Regions from separate parts of the Homo sapiens genome. Here region 1 is linked to region 2. The links are contacts of gene promoters, found by promoter capture Hi-C in human tissues and cell types (Jung and others, 2019). All regions are on one chromosome and are shown on one strand. The core of a region is centred on a gene start or on the middle of the fragment in contact, and the rest is flanking DNA. Distances in the headings are between cores, read along the strand shown. Region 1 holds the start of SOD3 (superoxide dismutase 3). Region 2 holds the start of LGI2 (leucine rich repeat LGI family member 2).

Region 1 (2,700 bases), core at 121-2,620, 240 kb after region 2:
CAGAGCAAAACCAGATTGTTTTGGGTGTGTCAGTGAGCTTTCTTTTTCAAGAATCCTTGGGAAATAAACATTTTAAGGAGATGTTTTTCTCTGAAACCAAAAGAAGAGCCAGGCATGGTGGCTTATGCCTGTAATCCCACCCCTTTGGGAGGATGAGACAGGAGAATCATTTGAGTACAAGAGTATGAGACCAACCTGGTAGAGACCCCCATCTCTAGCAAAAAAAAAAAAAAAAAATAGCTGGGTGTGGTGGCATGTGCCTGTAGTCCCAGTTACTCAGGAGGTTGAGGTAGGAGGATCGCTTGAGCCCGGGAGGTAGAGGCTGTAGTGAGCCGTGATAGTGATCGTGCCACTACATTCCAGCCTGGGTGCTGGGTGACAGAATGAGACCATGTCTCAAAAAAAAAAAAAAAAAAAAAAAAAAGAGAAGAAGGAGGAGGAGGAGGAAAAGGGGGAAAGAAAATTCTCCCTCAAACCCAGGTAAACTCTGACTTCTTGTTTCTTAAGCCTTTGACACCTCTTCCCCTCGGGACCAACTTGATTCTTCTCCCACAGCCTCTTGCTCAGTTTGAGCTGTGAATGACCAAGTGCCTTTTTAAGGGCCTCCTTTGTACGTGGATCTGGAAGGGAGGACGGTGTTATCAGAGAAAGAGGACAGTGTTATCAGAGAAAGAGGACAGGGGCCCTTATCCTGAACCAAATAGAGGCACCAAGCCTTTATCTCCTTCCTGGGTCTGTATCTGGGAAGAACCTGCCCCTCTTGAGCCTTGGGTGTGTTTCATCCCTCAGCTGTCTCCTAGAAGGAGCTCTTGCTGGGAGCCTGAGCTGGCCAGGGCCTCTCTGCTTTCCTAAGGAGGTGGCTTTTTAGAGTACCTGCTGTCCCATAAGTGGCTCCCGACACCAAAGCCATGCAACATCTAGAAAGGCCCCCTTTCTCGTCACTCCAGATTCCTTTTCCTAACACTAAAATCCTCTTGGACTGGTCTTTGCAGATCCACAGGAGGAACGGTTTCTTCCTCCCCTCCTTGCCTTCCTCCCCGCTCACTCCACCTCCCCACTAACCCCTCAGAGCAGCCAGGGAAAGTACATTTCCTTCCCAAGAAGATGATCCAATTTGTTCCCAAGAAGAGGCCCGTTGCCCCAACCCAGCTTCAGACTCAATAAGCACACTCCGAGAAGAACAAAATGAACCTCAACTTAGCACCCACCTTTCCAGCTCCTCCAAGAGAGCTTTCTCTCCTGAAAAGAGAGCTGCACCCAGCCAGCCCAGGAACGCAGGCTGTCCCTGGAGCCTGGGCTGTTAGCGCGAGTGCAGGAGGCCAGCCCAGAGGAGTGGTCAGCGTGAGGGAGCCAGTCATTGGGCCAGTTCAGGGAGGAAAAGCAGGCCAGACCTCCCCGGGTTGTAGAATTGCTTCGCCTCCACCTCCTCCCGCTCTGTCCCCACCTCCTCTGCCCCTCCCATTTTTGGGTTTTCGGGCCAAGGATTCCATTCCGCGACTTCACCGGCTTGTAGCCAGTGACCTTCAGCACACAGCAGGGGAATAAAAATGAGAAAGAAAATCGCCTGTTTGGAGAGGTGTACAATGACCTCTTTATTGAGAGGCCCTTTGCTTTTCTGTAAGTCAATAACTTATTGACTTATTTTTGCTGCATGGAAATGGGCACCTTGCAAATGTGCGTGGCATTTGCTCCAGAGCTGTGCTGTCATACCTATGAGAGCAGAGCAGCGGGTGGGTCGTGATGACACACTCAGGCTGCAGAGTCCCAGCCTTGTCACTTCCTATCTGTGTACGCCTGAAGCAGCTGCACCACTCCCTGCACCTCCTTTTCATCATCTGTAAAATGGGGGTGTGAGGCTGTCCACCCCGCACGCCCACCGTGAAGATCCAATGAGATCATTACTCGCCCAGTGACAACACAGTGGCTGGCACTAGCCGCACTCATAAGTAATCATCATTGTCATTGTCGTTACCGTTATTATTAAAGAGATGAAGGAGTCTTTTTAAAAAATGTGTTGTCTGGGAGAACTAGGAGTGTTTCCCTCCCGACGTCTGTCCTTTTTTTGCTGCCATGAACTTTTCTCAATCATAGCAGCCCTTTCCAAAAATAGAAGCTCTTCTTTCCCAGAAAAGCCCATGTGGGAAAAACCAGGCAGCCTGCTTGCTGGCCTGCCCGTCCTCCTGCATTCCTGCAACAAATGTTTATTGGGTGCTCATCCATTCCAGTCACCATGCTGTATGCCGGGCACCCACAGCTGCATGAGTCACCTTGGGGGTTCATACTCTGGGGACGGAGACAACAACGTCAGTAAATGCATCCAGTACAGAGTGGGGAGCGCAGCGACGAAGAATGAACAGGGCCTCGTGAGGTCCCAAACACCCGTTTCGGTGGCAGGAAAGCTTATAAAAAATCTAAATCTCTGGATCCCACCCCAGGATGGGTGACTTAGTTACCAGCAGGAGCTTCCTAGAATCATCTTGGAAAAACTCAAACTAATGATCTTTATCCAGGGACAGGCATTCTGCGAGATAAGAGGGAGACTTCCCAGAACTGAGACTCCAGCCCTTCCACCCTACCGTCCTTCCTTCTGGCCCGCTGAGAACTCAGGCACCAGTAGCTCAGTCTTGCACCTCTGCATTCTGTTGGTAGGCGTAGTTATCCTCAACTAATGAGTTTTCAGAGTTCCCCATGCCACCCACC
Region 2 (2,726 bases), core at 64-2,563:
TTGGTCAGTCTGTGACCCCCTTGTAGCCAGTGGAGTTGCTCTTTTAGGGTTGTCTGTCCAGCTAGACTTTTAGCTCCCTGAGGACAGGAGCTGTTCCTTTGTTCCCTCCCACAGCAGCCAGCCTGATACCGTCCTCATGGATCTTGTCAATGGATCACCAACAATAATTGCTGAAGAAGCAATAGTATGATTCCTACTTTTGCATTCGATACTGACTTTTCTGAGTAGGTTTTAGCATCTGGCATGCTTTTCCTTGGTTTGCAGCTCGACAGTCGTGCTGTGATTCCCTTCTCCCAGCAGTTCAGGTTATTAGCCATTACTTTGTTTCCGCTTTGGTCATTTTCTTTGATTTCCTCAGCCGCACATTACCTGTGTTAAGATTTCCGCTCATTGCTTCAAACTTAAGGAGTTGAAGAGGGGCTCAGGAGGGCCCAGTTAAGGTAGCCCTTCAAGGCTCCGAGCCCCATCCTGCCCAGCCAGGAGCTGCTGGACCATCAGCCAGTCAGGATGCTTTCTGGGCGTCAGCAGCCTCATCAATAAATTAAGGATATAAGTAGGACCTGCCTCAAAAGGTTAGAAGATTAAAAGTACAGTGGCTAGAATGTATCACACCCTCAATCTCTACAAACCCTCCTCTGACTGGGGCGGGTGGGGTGACCCGTGGGCAGCTGAGCGAGGGGAAACTTTCCCGGGCTTTCCAGCTCTTTAGCAGGCAGCAGGCAGGGCCCAGAGCGCCGGGCGTGCAGGCTGCAGCGGCTTTGCTTCCCCACGTTCCTCCCATGGGAGGACTGGCTGGCTTCAGTAACCCCTGGTGCTGTGGGAGCGAGAGCCAGACCTCACTGCCCCACCGCAGAAGACAAGCAAAGCCATCCTCGCTGACCCTACCGGCAGCATGCACTTCAAAATTAATAAAGGCTGCTCCAAAGTCTCTCCTCTTCAAAGCACCCAGGGCTGCCTCCCTCCCCAGTAATCAAGCCGGTTCTCCACACTCCCCGCTCCGACTTTATTGATTTGCCTGAAAGGAACCCAGTGCCCTCCCCAGATTATACCCCTGGAGGTATTGCAGGCATCGGATCCTCCACCGCTCAGTCAGGCCCCGACGGGGGTCTCCGCCAGGCTTGGCCCCTCCCCCAAGGTCACCCAACTTTTCCCTCTGTCCCCGCGCCCGGCCCGGGGCGAGAGGGGGTGGCGAGGTGGGGGCCGGGTGGGGCGCCACGGGGCCGGCGCTGGCCCCCTCCCCCGCGGGGCGGGCCCCGCCATGCATTATTCATTGGCCAGAGCCGGGCTGCGGGCGCGAGTGCTGATGTCAGGCAGGCGCGAGTGCGGCGGGCGCAGCGGCGGCGGCCGCCCAGCAGCCCGGGCTCGGGTGGGGGGGCGCCGAGTGGGGGTGGCGGCCAGCATGCTGCTCGGCTGCGGCTCGGCCTCCCACACCCGCGGCTCCCTAGTCCTCGCCAGCAGCGGCGGCGGCAGAGCAGCGAGCGGCGCCCGCGTCTGCAGCGGCGCCGGGTCCGAGCGCGCGGCGCGGCGGTGGGGGTCGGGGCCCGGGCGGGGAGCGGGGACCGGGCATGGCGCTGCGGAGAGGCGGCTGCGGAGCGCTCGGGCTGCTGCTGCTGCTGCTGGGCGCCGCGTGCCTGATACCGCGGAGCGCGCAGGTGAGGCGGCTGGCGCGCTGCCCCGCCACTTGCAGCTGTACCAAGGAGTCTATCATCTGCGTGGGCTCTTCCTGGGTGCCCAGGATCGTGCCGGGCGACATCAGCTCCCTGTGAGTGGGACCCCTCCAGCCCCCATCCCGTCCCGCCCCACCCTGCGTCCGCCGCCGCGAGGGAGTTGCCTCTGGCGCCGGGCCAGCGCGACCCTGACCCACTCCCCAGGCCCCTTCTTTGCCTTTGTGTGGGGGACGTGGGTGGAGTGTTGGCCCCCGGGGAGGACGGTGAGGACCTGAGCCCCAGAATCTGGGAACCCAGACAGGTTCCTGTGGCAGCGTTTCTCAGAGTGTGGCCCACGGGCCACCTGCATCAGACTCACCTGGGGAAGCTTGTGCCAATGCAGAATCCAGCTGCTCTGAAGCAGTCTTTGGAGTGGAGTCCTGGAGTGTGCGTTTGACGTCCCCGGGAGACTCAAGGGTGCATTAAAGTTTGAGAGGGCGTGTGCGTGTGTGTGTGTGTGTTTGCGGGTTGGAGTTGTGTGTGTAGGGGCGTGCATAGGAGCAGCTGAACACGACCTGACTGAGTGCAAACTGGGCAGGGTGAGGCCTCACTGCCCCACATCAGGTCTGGGGCGAATGTTCACCCCGTGGCCTCCTCCCGACTTCTCCACATTGCAGGTTGCAAAAAGTCGAGGTCAAGGCATGCAGGCTCTGGGAGGGGAGGGGCCGCCCCCCGTGGCCTAGAAGAGGGGTAACAGAAGGCTGGGCAGAGGTTTGGGGCATGTTGGGCGCCTAGCCCAGTGGCCAAGTGCTTTGAAGTCAGCCTTCTTGCCCTGAGGTCAGGAGGGCTTCTTGCCCCCTTTCTCCATCACACAGTTGTGTTGGCTGCTTTTTCAGCAGGAGGAACTGACAGGAAAGGGCTTCACATTAGGTATCCACCTGCCGAGAGGTGCTTTCATCCTGCCCTCACCTGGCCACTCAAGCCAAATGACCAGCTCTCACAAGGGCGGTGGAAGGGGCTGTTGGGCTGTATCTTTACTGCTAGGACATGTTTCCTGCTAAGACCACTCTCTTGTTCCAG

Evidence for each region. Contacts are between HindIII fragments. The study calls those that stand out against the background at their distance.
Region 1: a contact is called between a fragment that was not itself captured here and the fragment with the promoter of LGI2 in region 2, in 2 of the 25 tissues and cell types used here (H1 embryonic stem cells and mesenchymal stem cells).

What each region holds. Positions count from the first base shown.
Region 1 is chr4:24,794,160-24,796,859 of GRCh38, reverse strand. SOD3 (superoxide dismutase 3) reads right to left here and starts at 1,287. Exons shown (of 2, transcript NM_003102.4): 1 at 1,209-1,287. The HindIII fragment of the contact is 6,648 bases long and covers 1-2,700 here.
Region 2 is chr4:25,029,533-25,032,258 of GRCh38, reverse strand. It overlaps LGI2 (leucine rich repeat LGI family member 2), which reads left to right and starts at 1,313. Exons shown (of 8, transcript NM_018176.4): 1 at 1,313-1,762. The coding sequence starts at 1,566. It overlaps LOC124900684 (a long non-coding RNA gene), which reads right to left and starts at 2,151. Exons shown (of 2, transcript XR_007058083.1): 1 at 2,026-2,151. The HindIII fragment of the contact is 9,452 bases long and covers 1-2,726 here.